Regions from separate parts of the Homo sapiens genome. Here region 2 is linked to region 1. The links are contacts of gene promoters, found by promoter capture Hi-C in blood cells and fetal thymus (Javierre and others, 2016). All regions are on one chromosome and are shown on one strand. Each heading gives the region's core, a stretch centred on a gene start or on the middle of the fragment in contact. The rest is flanking DNA. Distances are from core to core; before and after follow the strand shown. Region 1 holds the start of CMPK1 (cytidine/uridine monophosphate kinase 1). Region 2 overlaps TMEM69 (transmembrane protein 69).

Region 1 (5,637 bases), core at 1,837-4,336:
GTGTGAACAAAGGAAAAGAAGACACATTTGTTTTGATATGGCCTTTTTCATACTCCTGCTACCCATTCCCAATATGACCAATTGTCCTTGTTCTTGGCTGCCCATGTCCTAGCTCCTCCTCCCCAGAAGCTGAAGGGTTTGGAGCCTTCTTTTTTTTGAGACAGAGTCTTGCTCTGTCGCCAGGCTGGAGTGCAGTGGTGCGATCTCAGCTCACTGCAACCTCCACCTCCTGGGTTCAAGCAATTCTCCTGCCTCAGCCTCCCAAGTAGCTGGGATTACAGGCATGCACCACCACATCCAGCTAATTTTGTATTTTTAGTAGAACTGGGGTTTCACCGTGTTAGCCAAGCTGGTTTCCAACCTCAGGTGATCTGCCCACCTTGGCCTCGCAAAGTGCTGGGATTACATGCATGAGCCGCTGCGCCCGGCCGTGTTTTTTTATGTGAAAATTCACATATCTAAACGTGGGTCCCTGTTTTTGTATAGCCTTCAAGCTCAAAATAATGTTCACATTTTAAAATGGATTTTAAAAATAAAAATAAATAATATTTTGGGACACATGCAAATTATATAAATTCAAATTTCAGTATCCATAGAAAAATGTTTTGTTTTTGTTTTGAGACAGGGTCTGGCTCTGTTGCCCAGGTTAGAATGTAGTAGCACGATCTTGGCTCACTGGAGTTTGCACCTCCTAGGCTCAAGGGCTGCTCCCACCTCAGCCTCCACCTCCTGGGCTCAAGGGATCCTCCCACCTCAGCCTCCCATCTCAGCCTTCCGAGCATCTGGGACTACAGGTGCACACCACCACCTGTAGTGTAGTGTAGGCCTGGCTGGGCGCGGTGGCTCATGCCTGCAATCCCAGCACTTTGGGAGGCCAAGGCAGGAGGATCACTTGAGCCCAGGAGTTCAAGACCAGCCTGGACAACATGGTGAAACCCCCTCTCTACTAAAAATACAAAAATTAACCAGGGGTGGTGGCAGGTGCCTGTAATCCCAGCTACTTGGGAGGCTGAGGCAGAAGAATCGCTTGAACCTGGGAGGTGGAGGTTGCAGTGAGCCAAGATGGCACCACTGCATTCCAGCGTGGGTGACAGAGTGAGACTCTATCCCCCCCAAAAAAATTTTTTTCCAGCTGTGATAATAAAAAATATCCCATTCTCCTTTCTATGGTGGGAAGGAAAAGGTAGAAGTTGTGGAGAGGAAAGAGGTAGAAATTAAAGGGAGAATGGAAAAGAAGGGCAAACAAAGGCAAGTAGGTGAGGAGAAGGACAGGAAAAGAGACAGGGAGAAGGGAGGGACTTATAAATGGGAAAAGAAGGGTAGGAAGGATGGGAATAAGTAAAAACAACAACAACAAAAAGAAAGCAAGGAGAGAGAGTAGAGATGGGGAAGAGCCAGAAAATGCTGAGTGAGCTAAGAAAGGACCACCAAAAGAAAAAGGAGAATGGGGGTGGTCAGACAGAGGGCTATACCACTATCTTCCTCTCCTGTTTGCTTTCGTTTACTAACGTCCTGGTCACTCTGCCCTAAACAGCTTAGTTCCTTTCCCATAGTCTTTGTTCACTCCAGCACTATCTGACTTGAACTTGTACCTGTACGACAAATCTAACACCCTGGACTCTTAGTTCTAAAAACAGGACATGCATTCTGCCTCAGTCTTCCATTCCCATGGTCTCACCCTGGACCTTGGCATCATCAGAAACTCAGAAGCTGGGACATTTCAATTCCAAATATCCCACTCAGACCAGCAGCATCCATACTGCCAGAGCACTTGCTCATATACCCCACTGCAATCTTTCTTGGGCCAATGCTCTAAGACATTGGTCCCTTTCCCCACCACCCTCCAACCCCTCCACTACCAGGCTTCATGTGCCATTATTTGCTTTCCTGTATGGTTTTGATTCTACACACAGCATCATGAACATTCTCTTCCAAACACTCTCATCACTTGGCCCCCTCTCTCTGTTGTACTTGCCAGGCAAAATCCCAACCCTCAGTAAATGCAACAAGCTGCCTTCTCTGCCTGTGCCTGAATGGCCAAACATCTTCAATTATTTTGAATCCGTTACCTCAAATATCAAATGAGCTCTTAACGTTGGCCAGAAGGCCTTTTAAAGGCCTGTATGCACCAAGGCTCAGTTCTTGAACGTCTCCTTTTCTTCTCCCTTAAGATTCTTCCCTAATGAAGGGGGCAGGCGAACGGAGTTAAAGGGCTTCCATTGCTGTTAGAATACAGCCCAAATTCCTTTCCATAATCAAAAGTCCTGATCTGCCACCGACCTCACTTTCTCAACTTTTCACCTTCCATTCTCCCCTCATTTGACTCAGCCCTGGTCTCACTGTCACTGGCCTTTTTTCCTTTTTTTTTTTTGAAGCAGTCTCATTGTCACCTAGGCAGGAGTGCAGTGGTGCTATTACGGCTCCTAGGCTCAAGTGAACATCCCAGTAGCTGGGATCACAGGCACGGGTCACGGTGCCCGGCTTTTAAATTTTTGGTCGAGACGGGGTCTCGTCATGTTGTCCAGGCTGGTCTCGAACTCCTGGGCTCAAGCCATCCTCCTGCCTCAGCCTCCCAAAATGCTGGGATTACAGGCGTGAGCCACCGCGCCCAGCCAGGCCTTCCTTCAATTGCTTTAACATGCCAAACCAACTTAGATTTTTTGCACATGCTTTTCTCTGTGGGACACTCTATCCTGGTGTTTGCCTGGTTTCGCTCTTTTCTATCCTTTTGTCTTGGCTTGAATGTCACCTCTTCTGAAGCCTTCTCTGGCGACCCTGGCCATCTTATGTCCTACTTGTTATTTCTTCAAAATCGTACTGCCTTTTGTATGTACTGGTGTTTACTCATTCACACTGGCTACCTCCCCATACCTCACTGGCTGGAATGGAAACTCATTGCGAGCAGAGACAATAGGTTTTGCTCTCCCGCGGATCACGTCCCAGCCTCCAGCTCAGCACCAGACACTTGAGGGCGCAGGATAAAATATCTGCAGTCAGAAAGCACTAATAACCACCCAAGGGTTGGAGGAAAGCTGGCGCGGACCGCACGAGTGTCGCCGAGACGCCGCCGCCGTGCGAAGCTCCTCCCCTTCCGACAGGGCCGCGGACGCCCGGGCAGCCACGGCGGCGGGGCCGCGGCGGGCGCCGGCTCAGCCCGCCCCTTTCTCCCGCCGCCTCCCCGCCCCGCCCCGCGCCGCGCCGGCCGCTGTCAGCTCCCTCAGCGTCCGGCCGAGGCGCGGTGTATGCTGAGCCGCTGCCGCAGCGGGCTGCTCCACGTCCTGGGCCTTAGCTTCCTGCTGCAGACCCGCCGGCCGATTCTCCTCTGCTCTCCACGTCTCATGAAGCCGCTGGTCGTGTTCGTCCTCGGCGGCCCCGGCGCCGGCAAGGGGACCCAGTGCGCCCGCATCGTCGAGGTGAGGCCCGGGCAGCAGGCGGGCTCCTTGGGGCTTGACGGGATGCGGGCCGGCCTGTCCCGCCGCCCCTAGTCCGCGCCCCGCGGAGTCGCCGAGCCGCAGACTACGAGTCCCGGCGGCCACCGCGCCGCCCGCGTGGCAGTGGCCGAGGGCCGCCGGCGCGCGGCGTGCCGGGACTTGTAGTCCGCGCCCGCCCGCCTTGGGGGCCACCGCTTGAGGTCGCTTTGTTCCTGCGCCCCTTCTTTTCTTACATTTTGGGGACCAGATTCGTCTCTAGAGTGGGCTGGGAGAGGGATCCCGGAGGCCAACCTTTGGGGGTCCCCCAGCGCGCAGAGGTTAGCGTGTCGCTGATCGTGTGGCAGGTGAAGGCAGCAGGAGCGCGGATTTGGGTTAGAGGCCGTGTGCGCCCACAGTTGTCTGAAGGAGAGACCTATTTTTCTTCTCCGCGCCTTCCCTCTGGTTCCCTAAACTCCGCACTGTCACCGAACGTGTCTTTACTCTAGAAAGGAGGCCCGTGGGGCGGGGTGTTATTTTAGGCGTGCTGTGGGCTGCCGCTGGCACTCTCGAGCCCCGTCCCCGCAAGCTTTAGGGCGGAGCCAGCCCTGAGGCTCGGCCCGGGTCGGGGATGGGGAAAGCCGGGAGTGCTGTTCTGAGATCAAGCTTCAACCTTTGGCCCTGCTGCCAACTCACGCTCGGCCCTCGGTCACTTCCTGTCTCCCAGCCTCAGTTAGCCCTTGTAATACAGTAAAAAGAGTCTCTGAACCCAGATTTTCTCAGGATATAAAACACCTCCCAAATGTAAAATGCTGTTACTTTTTTTTCTTTTGCTTTGAGACAGGTTACCAGTTCAATTCTTTTAACAATTTTTGAGCTAGATGTATGGTTGGTTAGCTGCATTGACACTGTGGGAAAAAAAGGCTTCATGGACAATCTGGGGAATGCTTGGGAAAGAAGGAAAACAGGATATCTAGAAACAGAAGAGGCGACCATTGGTGGCCTCTAGTGAAATCACTCTGAAACCCTGTAACCAACAAAAGTTTTTTTGACCTAGAACTTATAATTTCCTCCTCTTCTAGGATATGGCCAATATTAGCATGGGGCTTTTGCTTCTCTCCTTATATGTTCATAACAATCAACTCCTGTCCTGTATTTTATTCCCTAAATAGCATCCAGAGAAAGTTAGATGAGTTCAACAAGTCATTATGTGTTGGACAGATGTATTTATAAATATTGATCATTTTGCCAGGCGCTGTGGCTCACTCCTGTAATCCCAGCACTTTGGGAGGCCGAGGCTGGCGGATCACGAGGTCAGGAGTTCGAGACCAGCCTGGCTAACATGGCGAAACGTTGTCTTTACTAAAAATACAAAAATTAGCCTGGCGTGGTGGCGGGCGCCTGTAATCCCAGCTACTCCGAAGGCTGAGGCAGGAGAATCGCTTGAAACCGGAAGGCGGAGGTTGCGGTGAGCCCATATCGCGCCACTGCACACTAGCCTGGGCGAAAGAGTGAAACTCCGTCTCAAAAAAAAAAAAAAAAAAAAAATCATTTTAGGTGTCAAAGTGGAACTAGTCCAACTAAAAAAATACATAACATTTACATCCTCTTAAAAAAATTTTTTTTTGTTGGTTCTCTTTCTTTTGTTGTTTTTTTGTTTTTGTTTTTGTTTTTGTGACAGTCTCACTCCGTCACCAGGCTGGAGTGCGGTGGTGCGATCTCAGCACACTGCAACCTCCGCCTCCCAGGTTCAAGCGATTTTCCTGCCTCAGCCTCTGCATAGCTGGGATTACAGGCGTGCGCCACCACGCCTGGCTAATTTTTGTATTTTTGGTAGAGACAGGGTTTCACCATGTTGGCCAGGCTGATCTCGAACTCTTGACCTCGTGATCTGCCCGCCTCAGCCTCCCAAAGTGCTGGGATTATAGGCATGAGCCACCGTGCCTGGCCTTGTCACTTGTCTTTTAAAAAGTAAAGAGACTGGCTGCTGCACTCCAGCCTGGGCGACAGAGCGAGACTCCGTCTCAGAAATAAATAAATAAATAAATAAATGGCAAGTGAAAAGTGGGAGTGATTTCAAATTTTTGTTTAGTATATGTGATCTTTCTTAAATAGCATGATGGGGGAAGGGGCAAAGACTTTAGAGTCAAAGAGATATAGGTTCAAACCCTGACTCTGCCATTTACTGTTTCTCTAGGCCCAGAGATGTTGTTGCCTTTAGTTCCCTGTG
Region 2 (6,043 bases), core at 1,355-3,854, 1.6 Mb before region 1:
ACGTGCCACAGAGGAAAGGGAGTTTCCAAAGATGGGGGGATGGTTGAGATTTTAAATGGAGTGGTCTGGAAAGTCCTTAAGAAGAAAGTGATTTTGAACAAAAGTGATGGGTACGCTCTGCGGGCATTTTGGTCTGGGGCTCAGGTGGGTGGGTGTGGGTGTGATCTAAATTCTACTCGGAGGCCCAGGATTACTTACCTCCCTACTTGCTTCCTTAAGTATAGTATGAAGACATTAACTGGTATACAGGATTTCTTGACCCAGCCCTAAGATCTGTGATCAATAAATTAGTTCAATCGATTTTTTTTTTTTTTTTTTGAGACGGAGCTTCGCACTGTCTCGTGGGCTGGAGTGCAATGGCGCGATCTCGGCTCACTGCAACCTCCGCCTCCCAGGTTCAAGCAATTCTCCTGCCTCAGCCTCCCGAGTAGCTGGGATTACAGGCGCCTGCCACCACGCCCAGCTAATTTTTTGTATTTTTAGTAGAGACGGGGGGGAGGTTCACTACGTTGGCCAGGCTGGTCTCGAACTCCTGACCTCGTGATCCACCCACCTCGGCCTCCCAAACTGCTGGGCTTACAGGAGCGAGTCACTGCGCCCTGCCCAATCGATTTTTTAAAATTAAGCAGCAACTGTAGGTTTTTTTAGACATCCCATTCTCTTGGTTAAGAATGAAATTGTCAGATCTAGATCCATATTATCATTCACCTGTTTTTACTGGCTGCTTACATTAGAGTTTTTAATCAGTCCCTCCTGTGTAAAGTGCTTTGTGTCAGGGACGGTTCTCAGCTATTTACATGTAGTAACTTATTAAGTGTTATATCAGGCTAAGTGGCACACACCTGCAATCCCAGCACTTTGGGAGGCCGAGGCAGGTGGATTGCTTGAGCTCAGGAGTTCAAGACCAGCCTGAGCAATATGGCAAAACCCCTTCTATACAAAAAATACAAAAATTGGGGCCAGGCACGGTGCCTAATGCCTGTAATCCCAGCACTTTGGGAGGCCAAAGCAGGCGGATCACGAGGTCAGGAGATCGAGACCATCCTAACATGGTGAAACTCCGTCTCTACTAAAAATACAAAAAATGAGCTGGGCGTGGTGGCATATGCCTGTAGTCCCAGCTACTCAGGAGGCTGAGGCAGGAGAATGGCATGAACCTGGGAGGCGAAGCTTGCAGTGAGCTGAGATGGCACCACTGCACTCCACCCTGGGCGACAGAGCAAGACTCCGTCTCAAAAAAAAATTGGCTGGGCATGGTGGCGTGGCCTGTAGTCCCAGCTCCTTAGAGGGCTGAGGTGGTAAGATCCCTCGATCCCGGGAGGTCAAGGCTGCAGACAGCGGAGAGCACGCCACTGCAGTCCAGATTGGGTGACAGAGCGAGACCCTGTATCCAAAAAAAAAAATGTTACATCAACCCTATGAATTAGTATCCATATTTCAAAGGTGAATGAACTGCACCATAACAAGATTAAATAATTTGTTCAAAGACACACAGCTAATAAGTAGTGGAGCCAGGATTCCAACCAAGTTTGACACCAAAGTCTGCACTCCAACAGGCTATTCTCTCTCAGTACTAAGTTAATGAGGTTATTTTGAGCATTAAATGAGTTAATGCTCACCGGGCGCGGTGGCTCATGCCTGTAATCCCAACACTTTGGGAGGCCTAGGCAGTTGGATCACCTGAGGTCAGGAGTTCAGGACCAGCCTGGCCAACATGGCGAAACCCCATCTCTCCTGAAAATACAAAAATTGGCCAGACATGGTGGCAGGAGCTTGTAATCCCAGCTACTTGGGAGGCTGAGGCACAAGAATTGCTTGAACCCGGTAGGCAGATGATGCAGTGAGCCAAGATCGCGCCACTGCACTCCAGCCTGGGCGACACAGCAAGACTCTTGTCTCAAAACAAACAAACAAATTAAAAAAACCTAAATTATATTGGTTGGTACTATCGTTATTTTGAGTTGTGAACTCTTAAGCCCCAAAATAGGAGGAAAAAAGGAAACAGAAGCTATGACCTTCCAGTTTTGTTTTGGTTTTTTTTTTAATTTCACAAAAACACCACTTAGAAGACCCTTCATTTTAAAGATGAGAAAACCAGTACTCAAGCAATTTGCCCAGTGTCACACAGCTAGGAAATGGTGGAAGTATCTGTAAAATCTCTATGTGCATTACTCTTTCTATTACACTAGACAGCCAAAGCTAAAAGAACAGTTCAGATACTAAAAGGATCTATTTTGTTACTGTGTTACCGACAGTTTGAAAACATTAATGATTCTTTTCAAAGGAAAGTGTTATATTCATGAATTACTACTATTTAAAAATTAATGTATAAAATGAGGAAAATTAAGTGACACCTTGTGTTATACACAGAAACATGCCCCTGATTCAGTGCCTCTGCTTAGCTGTAACATGTTAATCAGAACTACCTGGCATCTTCCTGAACAAGACTTTCAATAGGGGCCAGTATGCTTCGCTTCATCCAGAAGTTTTCTCAAGCATCTTCAAAGGTTGGTTTGTTCAGCAGATATTTGAGCACTATTTGCCAAATATTGCTTGGGCTAGGTCAGTAGCAGTGAAAAAGACAAAAATCCTTACCCTTGTATATTCAGGTGATGGAGGGAAGAGTTAAGTAAAATACAAGTAAGTAAAATGTTTATTATATCAGGCTGGGTGCAGTGGCTCACGCCTGTAGTCCCAGCAATTTGGCAGGCCGAGGTGGGTGGGATCACTTGAGCTCAAGGAGTTCAAGACCAGTCTGGGCACATGGCAAAACCCCATCTCTACAAAAAATTAGCTGGGCATGGGGTCACACGCCTATAGCCCCAGCTACCTGGGAGGCTGAGAGAGGAGGATCGCTTGAGCCCAGGAGGTTGAGGCTGCAGTGAGCTGAGATCATGCCACTGCACTGCAGCCTGGGTGACACAGCAAGACGATGTTTAAAAAAAAAAAAAATTGGCTAGGTGCCGTGGCTTACGGCTGAAATCCCAGCACTTTGGGAGTTGAGGCAGGTGGATCACTTGAGGTCAGGAGTTCAGTACCTGCCTGGCCAACATGGTAAAACCCTTGTCTCCACGGAAAAATACAAAAATTAGCTCAGCATGGTGGTAGGCGCCCGTAGTCCCAGCTACCTGGGGGGCTGAGGCAGAAGAATCACTTGAACCCAGGAAGCAAAGGTTGCAGTGAGCCGAGATTGTGCCACTGCACTCTGGCTTGGGTGACAGAGGAATAATTCATCTCAAAAAGTAAAAATTAAAAAAAATAAGGCCAGGCACGGTCACTCACTCCTGTAATCCCAAAACTTTGGGATGCCAAGGCGGGCAGATCACGTGAGGTCAGGAGTTCGAGACCAGCCTGGACAACATGGTGAAACCCTGTCTCTACTAAAAATACAAAAATTAGCTGGGCATGGTGGCGGACGCCTGTAATCCCAGCTACTCAGGAGGCTGAGGCAGAGAATCGCTTGAACCTGGGAGGCAGAGGTTGCAGTGAGCAGAGATTGTACCACTGCACTCCAGCCTGGGTGATAGAGCAAAACTCGGTCTCAAAAAAATAAAAATAAAAATTAATACATCAACTGGTAAATGCTGTGGAGAACTATAAAGCAGGGAAGGGCAATAGGTAGTGTCAAGACGTAGGATTGGACTTACAAATGGCAGGGGATCGGAAGTAGGTAACTGAGGGAAGAGCAGTAAATATGGAAACAGGGAAATGGTTCCAAGATGGAACCATTCCTAGCATGTTTGAGTAATCACTGAGATTCTTCAATAACTTCAATTTTTTCTTTAATGCAACACTTTTTAGTTGAAGTCTGGTCACTAAAACACAGAATCAGCAGGAAAGGTTATTACTTTGCCCGTGTACAATGAAAGGCAGTGGGGATTTTAAGGCAAGGAAAAAAATACGGTCCTGGCTCTCAAGTCTACTGAGACAAAGACAAGTAAACACACAATTTTAATTCACTGTGAGAAGAATTATGATGGAAGTGTGCACAGGGTGCTTACTATAGGAGCATTAAATCAGACCGTAGAAGGGTAAAGGAAAGCTTTAAGTTGAATTTTGAATGTTGAGGTAAGTTTCCTAGATAGGAAAGTAGTAAGAGCTAGAATTCTAGGCAGAGCATACACAAAGGTGTGGAACTGTGAAAAGTATGTGGTGTTCATAAAACTAAGTTGGAAGGTAGATTTATTTTCTCCATATAAAAACAGCATTCCCACGGTAATTAGTGCTGCTGCTTTTGCTATTTATAAATAAAAGAGGCAGTTTAGAAGGCCAAATTCTGAAGATCTAGTCTTTACCTGCTCCTCTTTCAGATATTTTTCTCATGGAATAAGATTAAGTGGTAGGTTGAAATATATCACTAGTTTGTGTTCAGTGGTTTCTTTTGTACATTGTATAGCCATTTAATACTCTTACCAGCAATAATATCACTTCAGAGTTATTAGTTCATCCTTTCTGTATAGTTTGATGTGGTAATGGAAAGCAGATCTTTTTTGTTTGCTCCTTTCAAACAATCCCCATTATTTCATACTGGGATTGACTAAAATCTGATGATACATATATATATTTTTAATTTTGTCTTTTGGTTCTATTTTCTTTGTAGATACTGAAGTACTCTTTCCCAGTGGGACTAAGAACCAGCAGAACAGATATACTTTCTCTCAAGATGTCTCTCCAGCAAAACTTTTCCCCATGTCCAAGGCCTTGGCTTTCCTCATCATTTCCAGCGTATATGAGCAAGACACAGTGCTATCATACATCCCCCTGCAGCTTTAAAAAGCAGCAGAAGCAAGCACTTCTAGCCAGACCCTCAAGCACCATCACTTACCTAACTGACAGCCCAAAGCCAGCATTATGTGTAACTCTGGCAGGACTAATCCCCTTCGTTGCTCCACCACTGGTCATGCTGATGACAAAAACTTATATTCCCATATTAGCTTTTACTCAGATGGCTTATGGAGCCAGTTTCCTATCTTTCTTGGGTGGGATCAGATGGGGTTTTGCTCTACCAGAAGGTAGTCCAGCCAAACCAGACTACCTTAATTTAGCTAGCAGTGCAGCTCCTCTTTTCTTTTCATGGTTTGCCTTCCTTATTTCTGAAAGACTTAGTGAAGCCATAGTCACAGTAATAATGGGTATGGGAGTAGCATTCCACCTTGAACTTTTTCTCTTACCACATTATCCCAACTGGTTTAAAGCCCTGAGGATAGTAGTCACTTTATTGGCCACTTTTTCATTTATAATCACTTTAGTAGTTAAAAGTAGTTTTCCAGAAAAAGGACATAAGAGACCTGGTCAAGTATAAAAAATATAAAAGTCTGGGAAGTGAGGAGCACCTCTGCCCAGCTGCTGCCCCGTCTGGGAAGTGAGGAGCGCCTCTGCCTGGCCGCCTGACCATCTGGGAAGTGTGACAAGCGCCTCTGCCCGGCCGCTGTGCAACCTTCCACGTGTGAAGTGACAGCCTTGTGTGTGATCTTTTCTGTCTTCCCCAAGTTTGCATTTTCGACATTAAAGTTTACTTTTTAGTTAAAAGTTTTAAAAATATATATATATAAATACACTGTAGATAACATTTGTATGCCAGCTACACCTTTTTCTACTTCTGTTTGGCTTTTTTTCCCCACACCAATGGTAATTTATCTTCACAGATTGTTCTTCATTTCTAGAAATTGTTACTTCATGGTAATTACTTGAGCAAAAGCTTGAAAATCCCTGACAAGTACTTTTCATCTCATAGTATATTAGTTTTCACTCAGTCATTTTATGAATAATATAGTTATCCACTTAAACATTTCAATATTTTAACCATCTTGAAAATTAAAGATTAAAAATCCCCTTTGTTAGAGTCTTGTGATCATTGAAAAGAATGCACATATTCTCCCACTTCAAGCGGAAAACCTCGTATCTGTGAGTATCTGAAAAGAAAAGGTAGTTCCATTGAGTTTTCACAGGAGTTACCACTGGGAAAGGCATGTCCAAACTTATTTCACATGGTATAACCCAATTATATGAGCTAAAAGGATCTATGGCTCTAAAGTCAGTAGGG

Evidence for each region. The method cuts DNA at HindIII sites, captures the fragments that hold promoters and counts their contacts. A CHiCAGO score of 5 or more calls a contact.
Region 2: a contact is called between a fragment that was not itself captured here and the fragment with the promoter of CMPK1 in region 1, in 1 of 17 cell types (neutrophils). The highest score is 5.5, in neutrophils.

The regions. Positions count from the first base shown.
Region 1 is chr1:47,330,704-47,336,340 of GRCh38, forward strand. CMPK1 (cytidine/uridine monophosphate kinase 1) reads left to right here and starts at 3,087. Exons shown (of 6, transcript NM_016308.3): 1 at 3,087-3,413. The coding sequence starts at 3,243. RefSeq lists a silencer at 3,000-3,639 and enhancers at 3,026-3,829, 3,830-4,633, 4,150-4,209. The HindIII fragment of the contact is 8,075 bases long and covers 1-3,994 here.
Region 2 is chr1:45,688,604-45,694,646 of GRCh38, forward strand. It overlaps TMEM69 (transmembrane protein 69), which reads left to right. Exons shown (of 3, transcript NM_016486.4): 2 at 2,371-2,507; 3 at 4,601-5,833. The coding sequence starts at 2,466. The coding sequence ends at 5,302. It also overlaps a transcript of IPP not described here. Among named protein-coding and RNA genes, the nearest start is that of TMEM69, 3.4 kb to the left of the region's middle. The HindIII fragment of the contact is 2,872 bases long and covers 1,169-4,040 here.